Regions from separate parts of the Homo sapiens genome. Here regions 1 and 2 are each linked to region 3. Evidence: promoter capture Hi-C in human tissues and cell types (Jung and others, 2019). All regions are on one chromosome and are shown on one strand. The core of a region is centred on a gene start or on the middle of the fragment in contact, and the rest is flanking DNA. Distances in the headings are between cores, read along the strand shown.

The links. Contacts are between HindIII fragments. The study calls those that stand out against the background at their distance.
Region 1: a fragment that was not itself captured here is called in contact with the fragment with the promoter of PLA2G12B in region 3 in 1 of the 25 tissues and cell types used here (pancreas).
Region 2: a fragment that was not itself captured here is called in contact with the fragment with the promoter of PLA2G12B in region 3 in 1 of the 25 tissues and cell types used here (adrenal gland).

What each region holds. Positions count from the first base shown.
Region 1 is chr10:72,914,899-72,917,784 of GRCh38, reverse strand. All of the region lies in intron 6 of OIT3 (oncoprotein induced transcript 3), which reads right to left. It also overlaps the pseudogene NPM1P24. Among named protein-coding and RNA genes, the nearest start is that of OIT3, 23 kb to the right of the region's middle. The HindIII fragment of the contact is 3,063 bases long and covers 38-2,886 here.
Region 2 is chr10:73,003,223-73,005,922 of GRCh38, reverse strand. It overlaps the pseudogene RPL17P50. Among named protein-coding and RNA genes, the nearest start is that of PLA2G12B, 50 kb to the right of the region's middle. The HindIII fragment of the contact is 5,315 bases long and covers 1-2,700 here.
Region 3 is chr10:72,953,432-72,956,294 of GRCh38, reverse strand. PLA2G12B (phospholipase A2 group XIIB) reads left to right here and starts at 1,489. Exons shown (of 4, transcript NM_032562.5): 1 at 1,489-1,820. The coding sequence starts at 1,610. The HindIII fragment of the contact is 10,065 bases long and covers 1-2,863 here.

The sequences.
Region 1 (2,886 bases), core at 320-2,819, 39 kb after region 3:
ACATTAAAGCAAAAATGCAAGCAAGTACAGAAAAAGGTGATTCTCTTCCCAAAGTGGCAGCCAAGTTCATCAGTTATGTGAAGAATTGCTTCCGGATGACTGACCAAGAGGCTATTCAAGATCTCTGGCAGTGGAGGAAGTCTCTTTAAGAAAATAGTTTAAACAATTTGTTAAAAATTTTCCATCTTATTTCATTTCTGTAACAGTTGATATCTGGCTGTCCCTTTTATAATGCAGAGTGAGAACTTTCCCTACCATGTTTGATAAATGTTGTCCAGGTTCCATTGCCAAGAATGTGTTGTCCAAAATGCCTGTTTAGTTTTTAAAGATGGAACTCCACCCTTTGCTTTGGTTTAAGTATGTATGGAATGTTATGATAGGACATCGTAGTAGCGGTGGTTGGGCATGGAAACGATGGGGAGACAAAAATATACACATGAAATAAAACTCAGTATTTTAATAAAGTAAAAAAAAAACCTTAAATGTAAAACCCAAAACTATAAAAATCCTGGAAGACAACCTAGGCAGTACCATTGGAGACAGAGGCACAAGCAAAGATTTCATGATGAAGATGCCAAAAGCAATTGCAATAAAAGCAAACATTGGCAAATGGGATCTAATTAAACTAAAGAGCTTCTACACAGCAAAAGAAGCTATCATCAGAGTGAACAGACAACCTACAGAATGGGAGAAAAATTTTTTTCTCTGATGAAGGTCTAATATCCAGCATCTACAAGAAACTTAAAGAAATTTATAAGAAAAAAACATTAAAACGTGGGAAAAGGACATGAGCAGACACGTCTCAAAAGAAGACATACATGTGGCCAACAAGCATATGAAAAAAAAGCTCAACATCACTGATTATTACAGAAATGCAAATCAAAACCACAATGAGATATCATCTCACACCAGTCAGAATGGCTACTATTAAAAAGTCAGAAAATAACATGCTGGTGAGGTTGTGGAGAAAAAGGAATGTTTTTACACTGTTGGTGGGAGTGTAAATTAGTTCAACCATTGTGGAACACCGTGTGGTGCTTCCTCAAAGACCTGAAGACAGAACTACCCTTTGACCTAGCAATGCCATTACTGGGTATATACCCAAAGGATTATAAATCATCCTATTATAAAGACACATGTAATGCACGTGTATGTTTACTGCAGCACTATTCACAAGAGCAAAGACATGGAATCAACCTAAATGCCATCAATGATAGGCTGGGTAAAGAAAATGTGGTACATATACACCATGGAATACTTGCAGCCACAAAAAAAGAATGAGATCATGTCCTTTGCAGGGAGTGGATGGAGCTGGAGGCCATTATCCTTAGCCAACTAACACAGGAACAGAAAACCAAATACCACATGTTCTCACTTATAAGTGGGAGCTAAATGATGAGAACACACTGACACATAGTGTGGAACAGCACACACTGGGGCCTATCAGAGAGTGGAAGGTAGGAGGGGGGAGAGAAGCAGGAAATATAGCTAACGGGTAGTAGGCTTAATACCTGGGTGATGAAATAATCTGTATAACCAACCCCCATGACACACATTTACATATGTAACAAACCTGCACATGCTGCACATGTACCCCTGAACTTAAAATAAAAATAAAAATAAAACTAAGCTTCAAAGACAGTATGGTATACGAGAGTAAGAAATGATCTATGGTCAGGAAGGGATGAGTGCGATGAGAGTAGAACTCATTAGGGGCTGACATCTTTCCTCACCCATCATTCCCATCTTCATTTACCCGCCCTTCAATGCCTCACTCAAACTCATCTCTTCTATGAAGCCCCTCAGGTTTACCATGTACAGTTGATGCCCATTATTCATGGATTTGGTATGTGTGAATTCACCTAGCAGCTAATATTTATGTATAACCCCAAAATCAGTACTCACTATGCTTCTGAGGTTATTCACAGAATGTGCACAGTGGCACATTCCCAGCTGAGGTCCAACAAGGCACCACTGCCTTCTTGTTTTAGCTCTCATTGTAAACCAGGATCCTTTTTGTGATCTACAGAATGGCATGTTTTTTGCATGTTTGTGCTTTCGTGGGAGATTTTGCTGTTTAAAGGGACCCCCAAATGCAGTGCAGATGGGCTATCTAGTGATCCTAAGCACAAGGAGGCTATGAGATCCTTACAGGGAAAATGGGAAAATATGTGTTTGATAAACTCCAGACATGAGTTGCGGTGCTGCTGGCCATGAGTGCAATGTTAATGAATCTATAATGTATGTTAAATAAGGTATCTTTAAACAGAAACACACACAGAACAAGACTGTTAACTGATCAGTTAACAAAAATGTTGCAACCAGAGGATTACAGGAACCTAACCCAGTGTTTCCCCTAGGAGCAATACTTAATTGCTAAAGAAATTAGCTTCAGTATTCCCTAATTTATTGCTTGTGGCAGCTTTGTAGAACATAACTACTGTGAATAACAAGAATCAACTGTAGCTTAAACTCAGATGGCTCTCATTTAGAACTTCTTTCTACCTCCTAATTAGCCCATTATTATACATGGCTTTATATTCTAACTATTGGTATTATACCGCCTAGCTCTTTGTTGTGTACTTTTTAATAAATAAGAAAATAATACCAAAAAAAAAGGGCTGGGCACAGTGGCTTACACCTATAATCCCAGCACTTTGGGGGTCTGAGGCCGGTGGATCACCTGAGGTCAGGAGTTCAAGACCAGCCTGACCAACATGGTGAAACCCCGTCTCTACTAAAGATACAAAAATTAGCCAGGCATGGTGGCAGATGCCTGTAATCCCAGCTACTTGGGAGGCTGAGGCAGGAGAATCGCTTGAACCTGGGAGGCAGAGGTTGCAGTGAGTCAAGATTGTACCATTGCCAGCCTGGGCAACAAAAGCA
Region 2 (2,700 bases), core at 24-2,523, 50 kb before region 3:
AGATTGTTCCTAAACCAGAAGAGGAGGTTGCCCAGAAGAAAAAGATATCCCAGAAGAAACTGAAGAAACAAAAACTTATGGCACGGGAATAAATTCAGCATTAAAATAAATGTAATTAAAAGGAAAAAAAAAGAAATATGGTGTGGTAATAGCTGTGAGCTTAATGAAGTAAGTTAATTGATGCTTTAGACTATTTACATTACTTATGGTGAATCCTAGTTCACACAAGAGTTCTTTATACTTTATGCAGTATTTAAATACTGAAGGAAGAATTTGGTTTGATTCTCTGGGAAAGTAGGTATTTTTACCCACTTTTAAGTGAACTCTGAAGCTCCTTTCTTCTGACTAGCCTTTGTTCCAATATAAGTGTTTTAGAAATATGGAGAATTAAGTTCAGCACTTTGATCCACTCAGATTTTGTGACCATTGATGATTTTTAAAAAAATTTTTTAGTAAAGTGGATGGAAGCAGAAAATTCAAAAATGTAGACATAATATAGGGGTTCAAAGAATGGAAAATACTGTTTATTGCCATGTGTGTTATAGAAAGTAGAATACAAGTGTCTTTCAGAAGGAAATTACGTATTCCATAATCTTACAAATTTCATTATATTCAACTTGGAACCCCACGTGGGAATTATTAAACTCTTTCAGAATTAGATCATACAGAACCCTTTAAAGTTTTATAATTACCAATGATTTTTCTTTCCAAATGAAAAGAGGGAAAAATCCAATATGAAGCTTTTAGTTCCATTACTGCAATTCTGTTATTTCTTTTAATGCTGAACTTTCACATAAAGGAGGGCTGGAACTACCCTGGAAAATGTGGAAACTGTTGTTTCCTCACCAACCCTAAGCCTTTCCTTCCATATTGGAAGTTTCATCATTCATTAACTAACTTTTATTCTTATTAACTTTAAATAGGGAGTTATCACCAACATGGAGTTAACGGAAGTATCCACCAGAACATCTTAACAGTGGGGTAAGCAAATGTGATAACTAGATGGTAATAACCTAGTAATATTATAAAAAGAGCAGTGAACTGACTTTACGATTCTTTGGAAAGCTGAATGGTAAATGCAGTAATAAAAGAAGCAATCATCTACCTCAGTGAAATTATAATAAAATGGTTATTGGGCAGGCATGGTGGCTCATGCCTGTAATCCCAGCACTTTGGGAGGCCGAGGCAGGTGGATCATCTGAGATCAGGAGTTTGAGACCAGCCTGGCCAACATGTTGAAACCCCGTCTTTACTAAAAATACAAAAAATTAGCCAGGCATGGTGGCAGGTGCCCATAATCCCAGCTACTCAGGAGGCTGAGGTGAGAGAATCACTTGAACCTGGGAGGCAGAGGTTGCCGTGAGCTGAGATCGCACCAGTGCACTCCAGCCTGGGCAACAGAGCAAGACTCCGTCTCAAAAAAAAATAAAATGGTTATTACAGTGTGAGAGTGTGGAGAAGTTACAAATAGTAAATCAACACATATATATAATTTATAAACTAATATATGTGTGTGTGTATATAAATGAAATCTTATTGCTGCTTAAAAGAATCTAAGTATCTTTACGTAGCCATGTGTTGACTGCTATATGTAACTTCCATACCACTTAAGTCCATATAACTGAAAAATGAACAGCTTCTATGCAGAGCCCAATGGACTAAACTATTGAATGACTGGATTGCTGTTAAGAAATTTATAGGCTGGGCACAGTGGTGTATGCCTGTAATCCCAGCACACTGGGAGGCCAAGGTGGGAGGATCTCTTGAACCCAGGAATTTGAGACCTGCCTGAGCAACATAGCAAGACCCTATCTCTGCTAAAAATAAAAAAGTTACCCAGGTGTAGTGGCATATGCCTGTGGTCCCAGCTACTTGAGCAGGCTGAGGTGGGAGGATCCCTTGAGCCTGGGGGTCAAGGCTGCAGTGAGCTGTGCTTGTGCCACTGTACTCAAGCCTGGGCAACAGAGCAAGACCCTGTCTCAAAAAAAAAAAAAAAAAAAAACTGTGATTCTAAAACACATACACCAAATTATGATTAATTATAAATCACTTGAACAGACAGAATTATGAAATGAAGATTGCTGGGAGAAAGCAGAATGGGAAAAATGACATCTTAATCCAGATGGCCAGCAACACAAGGACCAATCTCTTGGCGGTGGTTATTTTTACTATAGTAAAAGTTAGTGTTTTAGAGGGAACAATATTGGGTAACTTAGACAAAAAGGAATGAGTTAATAGAGTACCATAAATTACCAGATTTATCAGAATAAAATTTCAAAATCCTGTGCTCCTAATGTCCTTGGATATTATTCAACCACTTTAATGATATTTTGCAAAATTAACTGTAGTAGACCAGTAAAGGTCTTTGGCTGCCTACTTTCTGAAATTTGAGGACTATGAAGTTTACTTTCTGTGTAAATGTAGCCTTAAGTTAAATATAAATTTCTACTCAGGAAAACTGATGAGAATGCCTTACTGTAAATAACATATACAAGCAGATGTTAAGTAAAAGGAGCAACCAAAAGGAGTGGAAGTCCTCCATCGTCTGCTTTTGAGGTCTTGTTGAACTTTCATTGTAGCACTGTTCTGTTGAAATTAGTTATGTGTTGCTTAATGAGAGGAAAATGCATCATCATTAGAAGATTGTTGTTGTGGGAACATCACAGAGTGTACTTACACAAACTTAGATGGTATAGTCTG
Region 3 (2,863 bases), core at 240-2,739:
GTTTTCTCACCCCCAAATGGGACTATTTAATCTGCTTCATGAAACTGGCATGAACATTTGTGCATATGTGCATGTGTATGTGTGTGCCTCTGTGTATGTGCATATGCATGAAAGTGGTTTGAAAAAGTATAGATGCTTTAAAATATTGGGTGGCATTGTTGTGACTATGAATAATTTTTAACCACTGCCCTTCCTGGAGTCTGAGTCTTCAGCCAAACACATTTACTGAAAATGAAGAAATTAATTCATTTAATTCATTATTTTCCATGGGGCTTTCCAGACAAACATTTGAGAAAGGAGCTAAATGATTCATGTGGTCCATAAAGGTATCATTTTTATAGACTGGTGATTATTTTATTATTACTATTTTTTTGAGACAGAGTTTCGCTCTTGTCGCCCATGCTGGAGTGCAATGGCGTGCTCTCGGCTCACTGCAACCTCCGCCTCCTGGGTTCAAGTGATTCTCCTGCCTTAGCCTTCCTAGTAGCTGGGATTACAGGCGGCTGCTACCTTGCCTGGCTAATTTTTGTATTTTTAGTGGAGACGGGGTTTCGCTATGTTGGTCAGGCTGGCCTCAAACTCCTGACCTCAGGTGATCCAAACGCCTCGGCCTCCCAAAATGCTGGGATTACAGGCATGCACCACCATGCCCGGTCCTAGACTAGTGATTTTATAGATGGCATTTCTTCACACGACTAAAAGCAGTCTAAACTGAAAACGATGCCAAAACACTAGACTTCAGTCAACAGTCTTAAAAGCCTACACTCCCAAATAGACTATTTGATAAACCCTCTGACTTCTAAGAAACTCAAAGGAAAAACACCACCAGGAGAGCCGAGTGCCCCCAGAATTGTCCTTGGACCATCTGTAGATCTTGTCTTATGATCCACTTATGCTGAGTGTAAACAGAGATACTGCTGTAAATAGAAGCCAAAATGTCCCTGCACTCAGATGGCTACATCTGGGAGCTCTGCCAAATTAGAGGATTTATGCGTCAGAGCCAGGTGGGTTCCACAGCAGAAGCTGGGGTCTCAAATCTGAACTTCTGCTTAACACACACTTGGTACCTACTCTGACACTATCGTGACCCTTGGTAAAGTGACTATTAATTCCTACCGCTGGGGCTTTCCTGGGCCCTGTACACATCCTCCTGACTCTCCTTGGAGACTATGTAGGTAGCTGGCTGAGGGGTGTGGCTAGGACCTTCGGTCAAGCTCTTCTATCAAGAGGCTGGCCCTGAAGAGCCACACTTGTAACTGATCAACAGCTTAACAAGCTGGTCGGGGTAGAACTCCGAATCCTTCACCGTTCCTGCGTCTCAGAAGCTGGCTAACATCTCCCTCCCTCCAGGGTGGTAGAATCCACTTTGAAATGTTCTCTCTCCCTGGCCCTCCCACTCCCTAACCTTTGCCCTCTTTCTAATTGCCCTGATCTCATCCCAACCTCCATAGCTATGTTTAAAGTCCACCTCTGGGGAACAGACAGATTGAATGTTCCAGATAATCCCTTTCCCAGTCCTGCCTGACATCTGGGTAGGGGGTTTGTCCCTGGAATTCTGGGACACTGGCTGGGGTTTGAGGAGAGAAGCCAGTACCTACCTGGCTGCAGGATGAAGCTGGCCAGTGGCTTCTTGGTTTTGTGGCTCAGCCTTGGGGGTGGCCTGGCTCAGAGCGACACGAGCCCTGACACGGAGGAGTCCTATTCAGACTGGGGCCTTCGGCACCTCCGGGGAAGCTTTGAATCCGTCAATAGCTACTTCGATTCTTTTCTGGAGCTGCTGGGAGGGAAGAATGGAGTCTGTCAGTACAGGTGCCGATATGGTGAGTGTGCGGTTTCTCTTTCTGTAAAAACTGTTGCTGGTGGACCCATGGACAGCCCCAGAGAGGTCACGATCTGTCTTGCACTTTTTCCTGTTATCCACTTAGAGCTGCCAGATTTAGCAGATAAAAATGTAGGACACCCAGTGAAATGTGAAATCCAAATAAACAACAAATAAGTCATTAGTATAAGTATGTCCAGTGAAATATCTGGGACATACTTATCCTGACAAATTCTTCGTTGTTTATCTCAAACTCACATTTCACTGAGCTTCCTGTATTGTATCTGGGAAACCTTCCCTGGGCCATTTTAATGAGTTTGTTGTGAGGCAGTTCTTAGGAAAAAAGGGTACCTGGGGTGGGAAGAAGGAGGGTGGGTATGAGAGGCCTCTGTGAGGAGTTCCCAGGGATGAAAACTGAAGCCGAACATTCAGAGAAAAATCTGCCATGGGGCAAAACCACCTCCTCAGCTGCTCTGTGCTCAGCTTGGAAACAAATTCTCCCTTCCCCCTGCTGCAGTTCACACCGTCCTCCCAGCTCTCAGTCCCTGACTGGCATCAATTTGCTGGACTTTCTCAAGGGAGCTGTCCCTGCCTGCAGCCTCGGCAACGACAGGCATGCTGTGGAGAGGAAGGGTTCGTGGCTCACCAGGGATCCCGGGGCTGTCCCCTGGACTTGGCGCCAGATGCAGATTTGTGAGCTGGCAGGAGCACTTCCCCTACCTTGCCTGAATATGGCTGGGGGTACACAGATATAAGGTGCACACCTGGCTGCCGGCACAGAGCCCCTGGTCCCAGGGGCCCTGGAAGTTAATGTAAGGGGAGCAAAATGTGGAGCCCCAGGCCTTGAAGCTGGGTGGCATCGTGTAATTGCCAATGCGCATGAAAACGTTTTCCAAAGCATGCACAGTCTCAGGTCTCAGGTAGCATTAGTTTTATGGTTTAATTTATCAACTATCTCATCAAGGGATTAGAAATGAAAATGGTGAGTCAATTTAGCCTAACAGGAAAACACATTTGAGAAATATTTTCTCCAAATACTCAACA